Regions from separate parts of the Homo sapiens genome. Here region 2 is linked to region 1. Evidence: promoter capture Hi-C in 16 types of primary human blood cells and fetal thymus (Javierre and others, 2016). All regions are on one chromosome and are shown on one strand. The core of a region is centred on a gene start or on the middle of the fragment in contact, and the rest is flanking DNA. Distances in the headings are between cores, read along the strand shown. Region 1 holds the start of DEPDC1B (DEP domain containing 1B). Region 2 overlaps ELOVL7 (ELOVL fatty acid elongase 7).

Region 1 (6,688 bases), core at 2,222-4,721:
CACTTTTTGTTTTGCTCTACTTATTAATTTCAGTCCCCTAGTTTCTCAGGAAAAAATAAAATCACACAATTGTTTTTTCTTAACATGATGAGGCAAACTATAAGACATACACCTACTGCTGTGCATCCTGTTCTTTTCTCCAGGATATTCCATTTCATTTCTTCTTAGTACCAAAAATATTATGATAGCGGTGCTATAAAGAAAACTGACTGGTCTGGGAGTTCAGTGACAACCACTCCTAGATCTACTTGCACTTGCCACAACCTCGTTGTGTGATCTTGCCATTCTAACTCTCAGATTCAATGAAAGCTGTATGTCTTTTAAAATTTATCAGTTGCATCAGACCATATATATAACTCAGAATAAGTTCAAAGATTTAAGCAGTTTCTAGAAAAAAAATTTTTCTCTCTACTTGAATGAACTATTTATACCAAGTTTACAAAGATGAAAGTTATTTCAGTGAAAATGTATAAATGGATAACTAGCTTCACATTTATCATGAGTTGGGGCTGTCATTTGACTTTTGTCATAACATTTTACCTAATCCACAAAATGTTATTTTCAAATAAGACTTTGGTGCTTTAGAAAAAGCACCAAAGAGCTTTTTCTAAAGCTGTACATGCTTTGAGAAAGTAAAGTGAGCCATGAAAGGAGAAAATAAAGGCCTAGTTTTTGTATCCCAATAGATTTTTACCAAGCTTCCCCTGAAGAAAGTTTAGAATGAGCATGATGGGAAAAGGGAGAAATTGTATGCTGCAGATAGAGGGAGGAAAGGCCAACTAGGTCCAACAAGTAAAAAGAGGACTAGTCTCAAACTATTAAATATATGATTTACCTAGCAAAAGCTTTAAGTCACAGCTGAATTACACTGGGGAAACAATTACAGACTTTACAATGGAAAGAAGCATCTTCAATGTTGGCTGCAATCACTGACAGCAGGAATACTCACTTTTGAAAAAAAAAATTGGCTATTGTTTTCTGTTTTCCACATCTTAGTTTAATATTATGTTCCTCAAACACTATGAAGTTGAGAACTGAATTGATTACCTGGGAAATTCTGGTGAAACTGAGGTGTTTGTTTCATTAATTATCCATGTCATTTATCTTCTTAACTTAATCAACCTAAATTTAGCCTGAATATTATTTGTTAGGGACTGAAGACTTCTAGAGAGCAGAGAGCACCTTTTTTTAATTAAACAAATTCCTTTGATAATATTTTAATGTGACTCAAGAATCCAGCACTATCTATATATGGACCCTCTGCATCCATGAAAAGAAGTACCTCATACAATTCTGTGAATATGAGACTAAAATACAATTCCAATTATGAGGTATTTTTTTTTTAGTCTAATGCAGGAAGAATGAAGACTAGTCACGTCAAGAACCACAGCCTTGCTATGTTTTCCTTGTGTAAGTGCTGTAAATAAATTGGTGAAGGGAATGATCAAATGCCTTATTTTCCTCCCTAAAGTTAGACTTATCAATATTCTTGACCCCAGATCATTCTGGTGTCTATACTGTATAGAGTGTTCGCAAAGATGAGTGCAATGATTCTTCCCATCCTCTCCACATGCACCTCTGTGGCTTTGCCACCCTGCCCATCAAGAAGTGGAGTTGAATTTCTAGAATCTGGATTTAGCTGTTTAACTTGCTTTGACCAATGAGATTTGAAGAAAAAGTCACAAGCTGAAACTTCCTTTTAGCTACGTTGGAACCATGAGACCACTACGTGAAGATGCCTCCGATAACCTGTTAGAGATATCTGGCCCAGGTAACAGCCAGGACCAAGTCAAGCAGCCATCTTCCATCATCCAGTAATAGCCAAGTCACATTATTTGTGGCACATGAGTGACCTCCACAAAAGAACCATTGACATGAGTCTAGCCCAGATTACTGATCCAAAGGATGAGCAAATAAAATGCTTGTCTTTATGCCAAATAAAACAATGTCACAGACTCTCCCAATCTCCTTATTATTTTTTTTTTTTTTTGAGATGGAGTTTCGCTCGTTGCCCAGGCTGGAGTGCAATGGCGCGATCTCAGCTCACTGCAACCTCTGCCTCCCAGGTTCAAGAGATTCTCCTGCCTCAGCCTCCTGAGTAGCTGAGACTATAGGCGCATGCCACCATGCCCAGCTAATTTTTGTATTTTTAGTACAGACGGGGTTTTGCTGTGTTGGCCAGGCTGGTCTCGAACTCCTGACCTCAAGCGATCCATCCCCTTAAATCATGTAAAATTTCATGAGTATGTGCCATGTGCAGTTTTCTGTGAAGAAGATCCTTAATCTTCATCAGATTCTCAAAGCGATCTATGAGCCAAATTTAAAAAGTAAAGACCCATCAGCCCCAACTATGATTTCTCTTCCAGAAGCTGGCCTTCTCAGCTCTGGCTTGACTTACTGGTATAGTGTGTGGCTGGCTTTGGAAAGAAAAGGAAACTCTATTTACATTATCTGTATCCCAGCATCCTCACCTCTTCCATGAGTCTAGCTGAGTAAGAGTTTGGATGTTAGTTCCCATCTTTTCCTGTGTATTCATTATAATGCATGGAACTATGAGAGTAATTCCCATGTTAAATGTGGCCAGAGAGGTCGGCAGACCAAGGAGCAAGTTACTGTCCTCCCAAATTACCATTACACTTCCACAGAAAGTCCTCTAAAAACTTGCCACAGACATTACCAAACTGTCACCCTTTATTGTTCCAAGTCAAAGCAGACCAAGTACACCTCAATACCAAAGCTTTTCTCCCAGAAAAAAAAAAAAAAAAAAACAGGAACTCAGAGTCGGCAAAGACTCTCCTAAAACATCTGTCCTGGCCAGCTCTTCATCTGGATCGGTGCTGACAGAAACAGAAACGCCAGGGGCCGGAAATGCGGCCAGCGCGATGCCCCTCTGTTCTGGGCACCGTTTATTCGAATACCCCGTCAGGTATCATCAGGTGTCACTCAGGAAGGAGACACGCCCTGCCTGGACTGCCGCGAACGCTGAGCGTTACGGGGTACGTGGTGGCCCCTCAGGTTACCGACCGGGTCGGTTAGATTCCAGAGGACAAAAGGCAGGGAACAGCCTGGTCTTGGGGTCTTTAAACAGAGAGGCGCCATCTACTGCCGAGAACCCAGTCAACATCTCATGGACAAAGCTGCACTAACCCCCGGCCGGCTGAGCTCTGGGCCCCGTTAGCCTTTCTTTGAGGCTCGTCCACTAAAAGGCAGCCCCAGTAGTCCCAGCTGAAATGCTCCACACCCGAGCCCCGCTGGCCTGCGGAAGCGAAGACTGACAAGCACTCTGTCCGCGCGCTGAGTGGGGGCTCGCGGCACCGGGTGCTCCGCCCAGGCCCCAGCACACTCACTCACCAGCCTGGTAGCTCGGTACGGCCCGGGCCCCACGATGCGATGCTCCATGGCGCGTAGGCAGCAGCGGCCGCAGCCGCGCCAGCGCTGATCCCCGCCAGCCGGAGGAGCAGCAGTTTGAATCCCAAGCCCGCGGGCTGCGGGCGCTGATTGGGCGGCGCGGCAGCACGTCACCGGAAATGCGCGGGGAGGCAGGCGTCTTCTCCGAGACCCGCGGCGCTGGGAGCTCCGCGTGCGAACTTGCCCGGGGCGAAATCTGTTGCCCACCCTGGTCCCACCGTGCGAGCACACCTAGGCAGGTGCGACTAAGGGGCCGGGGGCGTCTCCCCAGCGCTGGAAAACGCTGTGCAGCGCCCTTCCCAGATTTCTGCGTCCGCGCAACACAAACACACGCAACGCTATCTCTACAAAAGGGTCAATAATAGGTGTTATCCAGCGACCGAAACCCAGCTTTGGGCCGCGTGGATAAATACCTGTCCTCCCTACCAAGTGCACTGTGAGCCTGGAGGTGCTGCTAACGCTGGGAGAAGCGGTAGTGAAATGAAGCGAGGCGACAGCTTTTACCAGTGTAGGGACATTTAAAAACGGGATAGAGAGCACAAGGAGCGTAGACAGTGTGTTAAGGGCAATAAAGAGCGGGAAGGGAGCCCCGATTCCTCTTCTGTTTGTTCTCATGATAGTCTTTTCCCCTTTAATTTGAGTTCTATGTTTTGTATTGGGCTGATACTTTTAGTCCTCGGCAATAGGGTTGTGAGTCCTTTTTTGACTGCTTAGAATTTTCCCCCTGGGAATTGCTAGTCCGATTTGCAATCTTTCAGAGGGACAAATGAAGTAACTCCATATACTTAGGACTCTGTACACCTACTCAAATTTGGTCATCTCGGTAAGTACCCAGGACAAGACGTTGAAGGAGTGAAGGTGTGCCATTCCAAAATATGCCTAATTGGTATATTGATTATTTCGAGCGGAAAACATTGGAGAAATGGTAGTTTCAGAAAGGGCAAGCTGACCTGCCTCTTCGATGCAGCAGGCCACAAAGATTTCTCTGGGATGGGCATCCTCTCCCTACCACGGTGAGAAAATAGCCTTTATCACCAAAGGCTTGGAATTGAAGGCTGCAGTGGACCTGAATAAACATTCTTAACGAAGTAACCCTATCTTCCACTAGGAGATATAGGAGATTTTTTACATATATCTTCTAGTGACTCCCTAGAAAATGTTACTGCCTTTGTGAGCTGTGGAAGTTAACTCGAGTCACAGGGCACCAAAATATGTTAGCAGCTGCCCATATCCGAGACACGGCCCCAAAGTATGTTACAGGCAGTGAATTCCTACAGATCTGCAGCAACCTCAATTCTTGACTCCTCAGAAGAAAGAGTTCGACTGAGGGGCATAAGGCAAAAGGAGAGACCAAGGCAAGTATTAGAACAGAAGTGAAGTTTATTAAAAAGCTTTGAATGAAAGGAAGTACACTTGGAAGAGGGCCAAGCCAGTGACTTGAGAGATCTAGTGCGTAGTTTGACCTTTTGACCTGGGGTTTTATACGTTGGCATACTTCTGGGGTCTTGCTTTTGGGGCTTTGCATTACTTCTCTCCTGATTCTTCCCTTAGAGTGAGCTGTCCACAGGCGCATACTTGAGCCCACTTGCCCAACTCCTAAGATCTTATCGGGAAGCTGCTGATCAACAGTTCAAGTGTTTTCTATTAGGAGACTGCCTTTCCCTGGTGCCGGCTGTGACCAACTATTATTTTAGAGAGACAATTAACAACCACCTGACCATCACCTGATGGCTGCCTGACATTCCTGATGTGTGTGTGTATGAGGGGGAGCCCTCTCCTGCCCTGCTCATGCCTGACTAGCTACCTACTGTAACACCTTAACCAGATTTTCTTTGTCATGGCTTTTCTTCTCAAATTTATCTCTCTTTACCTAAAAAAATGAATAAAAGCATCTTACTTTGGCCACTTCTTCAGACTTCACTCTCTTGTGAAGATCCCCATGTGCACATAAAACTAATAAAATGTGTATACTTTTCTCCTGGTAATCTTCCTGGTGTCAGTGTGGTTTCTAGATACAACTGGAGAGCTCATTAAGAGGTAAAAGGGAGCTTGGAGGTGATCTCTGGCTCCCCTATAACATCATAAGAAAGATCTAAGTAAGGGATTGGACCACCTCTTCTCATCCTCAAAACCACACCACTACCACCACCCATTTGCTGCCTTAGGTTTTTATTTAGCCCAAGAAATGTCCTGAGATGATACATATATATTGCTTTTGTAATTAGAAAAAGCAATTTAAAATTTTTTTCTTACTTCCAGTAAGTGAATCCTTATCAGAACTTTTTTTCTTTTAACCTCTAAGCTCCATGGAAGAGATCTTCTTGTCCTTGGCAAGGAATATAAAGAGATACTTGTGTCCTTGACACAAGAAGCAGGAGAAAGGGAATTTTAAAGCCTTGTCTGAGACCTGCCACCACCTATCATGGTGGTGAAACTAGAATCTGATACAAAACATTATGTCCAGCATTATGCAGCTTTCTAGTTCGGTAAGTATCACAGACTGTGAAATTCCATAGATCTGGATTTCAATAATGACTGGTACTGCTTACCAGTGGAGTGACTTCAAGCTAATTATTTAATTTCCATCTACTCACTGGTAAACTGGGAATATTAATGATTATCTTGCAGAGTTGTAAGGATGTATGTAAAGTGCTAAATATAGTGCCCAGCATGTATTTAAAGTGCCCAGCATATAGCAGTAATAAAAAGAACTATATATTTTTTTAAAAAAATCATGCCAGCTTCTTGAGCATTTCCCAAGAGCCTGTTATTAGCCATAGACAAGATGGCTGTTACTAGAAAGGCATACTTCCAAAGGATCTACATATCAGAAGACACAAAGAGTCATTGCACGGGCCAGGGACATCTCCCCAACGCTGGACAATGCTGTGCAGCACCCTTCCCAGACTTCTGCACTCACGCAACACAAACACACACACTATTTCTCTACAAAAGGGTCAATAAAATGGTGTCATCCAGCGATGCCTCATGCCTATAATCCCAGTACTTTGGGAGACCAAGGCAGGTGGATCACTTGAGCCCAGGAGTTCAAGACCAGCCTGGGCAACATGGCAAAACACTGTCTCTACTAAAAATACAAAAATTATCTGGCTGTGGTGGCACGCTCCTGTAGTCCCAGCTACTCAGGAGGCTGAGGTGGGAGAATCGCTTGAACCTGGGAGGTGGAAGTTGCAGTGAGCCAAGATCGCCCCACTACACTCCAGCCTGGGTGACAGAGTGAGATCTTGTCTCTAAATAAATAAATAAATGCCTCAAAGAA
Region 2 (6,688 bases), core at 1,432-3,931, 120 kb after region 1:
GCAACTTTGCTGGCTCTGGGATGGACTGGCCCACATTCAAGGACTGGGGAGAGGTTCCTAGAAGGTAAGGGTGGCCTCTGACAGACAGCCTGGAAACAGGAACCTCTGTCCTACAGCCACAAAAAAAGTAAATCCTGCCAACAACCTGAATGAGCTTAGAAATGGATTCCAAGCTCCCATTGGAGCTCCAAATGGAGCCTCCTAATAAGAGCCCAATTGACCAACACCTTAATTGGGCCTTGTGAAACACAGAGCAGAAAAACCAGCTGTGCCAACCTGGAATTCTGACCTACAGAACTGTGAGATAATACATTTGTGTTATTTCAATGAACTTAAAAAGTCTGTGGTGGTTTGTTATGGCAGCAATAGAAAACTAATACACTATCTTTCGGTTTAGTTTAAGAACCATTTGTCAAGCCTGTTCCACATGCCAGGCCCTGTGACCAGTGTCTGGGATAGAAAAATGGGTACACATTCTCAAGGAGCTCATAAGTACTTCAGCCCAATGGACAATTCTATGCAAGAAGTTAGCACAAAGCACTACAGGAACACAGAAAGGCACCTAACTGGTACGACATCTTTAGACTCTTGACTTCTCACTTCTCCAACACCCTCCCCTTCTATTATTCGTTCTCCCAATGAGTTGGACCACGAACCTGATCACAAATCAGAAACTGTGAGCCATCCTTAAACTCCACTGACCCCTTAAGACCTGTGGTGTATGCCATCTTTATGATATTTCTCCTAAAAGTCCCTTCCCCTTTCCTTCAACTCCACTTCCTCCCCTCAACCCCTGACTGCTACTTCCTGAGCTTTATCATCTCTTGGCCACACACAGAAGGAAGTGAACTAATAAGTTTGTCTACTGATAAGTCTGTCTTGTGTTGATGTTCTCTTGTCTGCCTAGTGAATTATCTGTTTTTAGTATGCTGTAGCTTTAAGCCCTATACAAAGTTCTCGGTAAATTTGAGTAATAATTATAATTACTGCCTAGTTCACTTCCGTCTTTGTGTGGCCAAGATTACTGAAATCACCTTTCAACTAACTTTCCTAAATGAACAGCCATCCACTGTACACAAGGCCACCAGAGTCATCTTCCCAAGGATTAAAGCAGTCACACCATGCTCTACTTCAAAATCCTTCAAAGTCTGCCTACAGTTACTAAAAAGTCTAACTCTGTGGTGACGCTTAGCACCCTTCTAATCTCTAGCAGAGCAAAACTGTCCCTGCTGGACTTCTAACCCCAATTCCTAGGCAGGGTCTGGCACATGGTTGACTTCCAAACAGTATTCGCTGAACGAATGATCTCAACCCCACGTGACTCTCTAGCTTCATCTCTTGCCTAACAGCAACCTTTTCCACTATGTCCCCTCTATCCTCCAACTCAGCAAGCCCAAGTGCTCCTCCTTCCCCCTCTATCTATGCTCCAGTTTCTCTTCATGACTAAAAATCCTTGTTCGGCTGGCTGGGAAGCCTAGCTCACTTTTCATAATTCTGCCTTCCTCTAACATGCTTTCTGTTCCCCTTACAGCTAAACCACCCAGGCAAACTGTCCAGTCTCTTCTGAGCCCCTGACATAAGCTGTCCCCTCTTCTACCATGGCATCTATAGCAAACACTCTAGGACAGTGGCCTGTGACTGGTGCTGACGCACAAATGGTTTCTTACTAGATTGGTACCAGCTAACTCCAGAAATCAAGTGTAAGCATTTAGAAATGTTTATAGCAATTTGACATTGCTGTGACATCCAAGTATGTGATGCTTGTTGAACAAGGCATAGACCAGTTCAAGTGTTGCTGAATTTGTGAGGTGAGTCACATGTGGTGCAACCTGCATATTCACTATGTGCAATAGGACCATTTACTGATCCACGATAGGGAAAAAAAGAAAAAAACAAATTAAAAACCCAGTTGGTCTATTACCACAGATAGTTTGAGAAGCACTTCTCTAATGCCTTCAGGTGTGTTCTTACCTTCCTCCTTTTGGGAATGTTGTTTGCTGCCTGGGACAATGCAACAATGCAAATGTCTAATAAATATCAGTGAATAAATAAATGAAGGTGTGAATGATAAGAAGGCTTTGTGAAAGATGTGAGACTGAGCTATTTCTTGGTGAACAGTAGGAATTGGGTACTTTGGGGTTGTAGGATAGTCAAATGCACTGAGAAAGGAGTGCAAATGAGGAAGAGTGTGAAAGACACTGCATAGGCAATAGGAAGCGCTGAAAAGGTGAAATATTATTCATAAGCTCGATATGTAAAAGAGCTCAACCACACAGGTCACCAGAGTGCTACCCACTGAAAACCCCAAGCCTGTACCAGAAGAATCCCCTTAGTGCAAGCTTTAGCTATAGGCAAATCAGCTATGCAAAGGATGAATGTGATGGGTGAGCCTAAGAGCAAGAAGACCGAGTGGGGTTTAATTCCATCATCCCAATGAGAAATCATTATAGGCCTGAACAAGGGCAGAGATAGTTTGGTAAAGTAAATCCCAATGTGACAAGCCCAGGGGACATTCAGGTGGAGATGTTTAGCAGGCACTTGGGAGGAAGGTCAAGGCTAAGGATACAGCTTTTGGAACTTCACATCTAGTTGGTGATGAAAACCACAGTAATAGATGCATGAGAACAATAGTGGTCTAAAGACAAACGCCTGGAGAATACCATCACTTAAGGGGAAGGCCAAAAGATGGAATCTCACAAAGGAGACAAAAAAAGAAAGAGTCAAAAAGACATGAGGAGAACTCAGTACGTGCAGGATCATGAAAACAAAAGTGGGAAAAATTCTGAAGAGGGAGGCAGGGATGAATAGGGTCAAATGCATCAGAGAGGTTCAGTGCATAGAGTGGAATGGTCTTCAGCAAATTCAGCCAACCTGGAAGCCTCTGTGACTGGAAGGAAGAAGAAATTAAGCAATGATAAGGCTGAAGCCAAAATGCAAAGGCAGGTGATTAATAGCAGGCATTGAACAGGTCTTGTTCACGAAGCCTGGTGGTGAAGTCTAGAAGAGAAGAAGGAGAGGCAAAATCAAGCTTTATTAGTCTTAAGGTGATAACTGTTGGAGTATTTTTACAGTGAGGGGATGAAGTAATAGAGAGAAACAAGAAGGAACAACCCATGAAGGTCTAGAGGAGAAAATGAGGGGGATGGTCAGAAGCCCTGCAAGGCAGCATTCTCCCTCCACTGGAGCAAGGGTGATACCTCCTCCGAGAAGGAAAACGGGAAAGAAGGGCGTGAAATAGATGAGTTAGTAAAGGGGAGGAAGCCTTCTCCAGAGCCTAAGTCTGGATTAGGGCCCTTCCTACATGCGCCCATAGCATGTACCATGTCCAGTAATTGCCTAATTGACCTGCCTGGATGCAGGGATAGACCATAAGCACCAGGAAGGCACGGACTATAACTGTCCCATTTACCACTCTATGTCCCATGCCTACCACAGTGCCTGGCTTATCTAAGCCCTAATTAAATGTATAGTTGACTAAATGGGGACTAAAAATTAAAGAGGATTCACCAATAGATGCTTCAATTTTTCTAGCAAGTAGGAAGTGGGATCAATTGCCAAGGGTTTATAAAACGGAGTTAGGTAGAGGGTTTTTTAGAGATTAGTGAAAGAATAGAATAGCTTTTCAGGGAAATGGAAACTGAAAATCCTTCAAGAACAAGTTTAAAGTAGTGGTTCTCAATCTTAGTTGCACATTAGAATCACCTAAAGAACATGAGTAACTACTGATGCTTGGGTCCTGCCTCCAAATTTCAGATTTAACTGGTCTCTGTAGCCTGGGCTCCAGGATTTTTTTAAGTTCCCAGATGATTCTAATATGCAGCCAAGATTGAGAGTCACTGAGTGAAAGACTTAAGTAATGCTGGTCAGGATTGAGACAAGACTGGAAACCATGAACTGATCCATTTACCATTTTACCCAGTTTTCCACCACACTGTTCAGCTACCTGGGTATCCCTGCAGAGGATTACTGTAGGATTAATTTGGAATTAGGGCTTTACCAGGTAAATATGGAAGTAGGATAAATAAAAAATTCAGACACTACCTGGGTATCCGTGCAGAGGATTACTGTAGGATTAATTTGGAATTAGGGCTTTGCCAGGTAAATATGGAAGTAGGATAAATAAAAAATTCAGACACCAAGGCAAAATTATAGTCTCTGAGAGAGTGAAGAGAAGGAGGTATAAGAGAGCTGAACAGCCAGAGACCTTTACAGTGCTGTAAAGGTTATCACAGTTGAGTCACACAAGGAACTTTAAGGCCGCTCACAAGTCGGCATTTGAAGGGACGTGGAAGTCTCCCAGAGCAACAGCAGGAGTAACGATGGAGAAACGTCAAAGTCTCTAAGGCATGTGGGATTGAAGCGAAGAACAAGAGACAAAGAAGACTAAGAAAGGCAGAGGCAACAAAGCCCAACAGTGAGATGTTCAAAAAAGGAGAGTTTTGTTTCATTTTCCTATGGAAGTGAAAAAGTAACAGTTAGATTCAAATGTGGCAATGGATAGATAGGGGAATCCTGGCCAGTCCACCCAGATCTTTAAATATGGAAGAAAGCCTCCATTTCTTTCTACATAAAATTCATGAACAAATCCTATCTTCTAAATATATTCTAGAATCCAACTACTTTACTTTAACGGTGGCCCAAGCCACTGTCCTGTCTTATCCGGATTGCTGCAGTAGCCTCTAAGCTGGTCTCCCTGACTTCATCTTTGTCCCTCTTTAATGTCTTCCTCAAGTTAAAAACAACAAAACAAAAACTCAAGTCATGTCCCTTCTCTGTTTAAAATGCACCAATATTTTCCCACCTCACTCACAATAAAAGTCAAAGTTCTTATAATGGGCTCCACGGCCTTACATGATCTGGGCCCTGACTACCTCTCTGACCTCTGACCTTTCCTTCTTCTCACTTCTTTTTTTTTTTTTGAGACAGAGTCTCACTCTGTCACCCAGGCTGGAGTGCAGTGGTGCGATCTCGGCTCATTGCAACCTCCACATCCTGGGTTCAAGTGATTCTCCTGCCTCAGCTTCCCAAGTACCTGGGACTAAAGGCACACACCCAGGCTGGTCTCAAACTCCTGACCTCAAGTGATCCACCCAAAGTGCTGGGATTACAGGTGTGCGCCACCATGCCCAGCCTCACTTCTCATACTTAGCTTCAACTGCATTGATCCCCTTGTCCTTCCCTGAACACACCAAGAATGCCCTGCCTCAAGGCATTGAAAATCACTGTCCCCACAACCTATAGTTCTTTTCCTCCAGATATCTGCCACAGCTTACTCCTTCACTTTCCTCAGATCCCTGCTAAAATGTCACCACTCCAACAACACGCACTTCCCTTACCTTGCTTTATTTTTCTGCATCGTACTTTTCAGTGTTATATATATTTATATGTATTTCACCAATATTCTAAATTTACTTGTTTACCGTCTGGCCCTCTCTGCCCCCAAGAATGCGCTATATTATAAGCTGCTTAGGGGCAGGGATGTTCTTCTGTTTTGTGCACTCTTACCTCTCTGGCACCTGAAACAGTGCTTGACGTGTAACAGACACTGAAATATTTGTTGAATGAATGGATGGATGAACCTTCTCATAAGCAGTGTATGGGCCTGAGGTTGAGGGAAAGAGCTGTGATTCAGTTATATTTGGAAAATGATGAGACTGGGGATACAAGAGAACTGGAACACAATGGAACACCAGTCTCAAAGAATAAAGGACAGAGCTGAAAGTATGGTTAATAGTAACAGGAGCCAATAGAAAGGCTATAATACCCAGTAAAGGGTTTCTCTTTTGGTCAGTAACCAAAAATTACAAGAATGAGAGGAAGGGTGGGAATCCATAGCCTTAAATACCCTGCCTTGAGACAAGCAAGAATTGGCAGTCATAGGTTCAGTCCAAGTAGGGACAGGAATAGGGCATGGAGCCCCATCTGGGGAAGGAATGCCCAGCGGTGGACAGGCAGGGCACATGGACTGATGAATCCTATAGAGAGCAAAAAGCATAATGGTCTTTCCTATTACAAATCTGAATACAGGGGAGGTATTACGGTACATATACACCAAATAGTACGTATCTATAAAATGTACAGGTAAGCCAGAAAGGGAGGAAAAATAAATGGTACTCAAGGAGAGGGGTGGTTAAGAAAAGTAACCAACAGTAAGATCAAATTAATTCATCCTGTTTTGTATTTATGAGTACAGTTCATTTATCCAGCCTCATCTTCTAATGCAGTGTTTCATAAAAGTATTTTAGATAACTGAAATGCTTATCTCTAGGTGTAATCAAAGATACACCTGCCCAGATACACCTGTATCTGTGATTCTGATTTTTTTTTTACTGTAAAACATTTTTTTAAAGATTTCAATCATCTTATAACTGAACTTTTCTGGATGATTCAGGGATACTATTAAGATAACAGTATCATAGCAGTGTCCTCTGGGACTACCCCTATTTATGGCTATGGATCTTTGCCCTGCACTAAAAGTTCCAAATTGCAAGGCATTTCTAATGCCAGTGCCTGTTTTTTAACAAATTTCCTGTCTCCTCCCTATCAGTTTGTTAGCTACTGCTCTTCTTACTGTTTGTTACTAGCATTCCTGTTTCTACAAAATCTCACTCATTCTAATTTGTTTTCCCTAATATGCTATGGGATGGGAAATGAGAAAAACAACAACATTGGAATGTTTAAAATAGTG

The links. The method cuts DNA at HindIII sites, captures the fragments that hold promoters and counts their contacts. A CHiCAGO score of 5 or more calls a contact.
Region 2: a contact is called between a fragment that was not itself captured here and the fragment with the promoter of DEPDC1B in region 1, in 1 of 17 cell types (megakaryocytes). The highest score is 5.7, in megakaryocytes.

Annotation. Positions count from the first base shown.
Region 1 is chr5:60,696,695-60,703,382 of GRCh38, forward strand. It overlaps DEPDC1B (DEP domain containing 1B), which reads right to left and starts at 3,472. Exons shown (of 11, transcript NM_018369.3): 1 at 3,352-3,472. The coding sequence starts at 3,399. It overlaps LOC124900982 (a long non-coding RNA gene), which reads left to right and starts at 3,546. Exons shown (of 2, transcript XR_007058779.1): 1 at 3,546-3,647; 2 at 4,960-5,393. The HindIII fragment of the contact is 2,062 bases long and covers 2,736-4,797 here.
Region 2 is chr5:60,820,055-60,826,742 of GRCh38, forward strand. The region is part of intron 1 of ELOVL7 (ELOVL fatty acid elongase 7); the gene reads right to left. Among named protein-coding and RNA genes, the nearest start is that of ELOVL7, 21 kb to the right of the region's middle. RefSeq lists a silencer at 2,275-2,334. The HindIII fragment of the contact is 689 bases long and covers 2,338-3,026 here.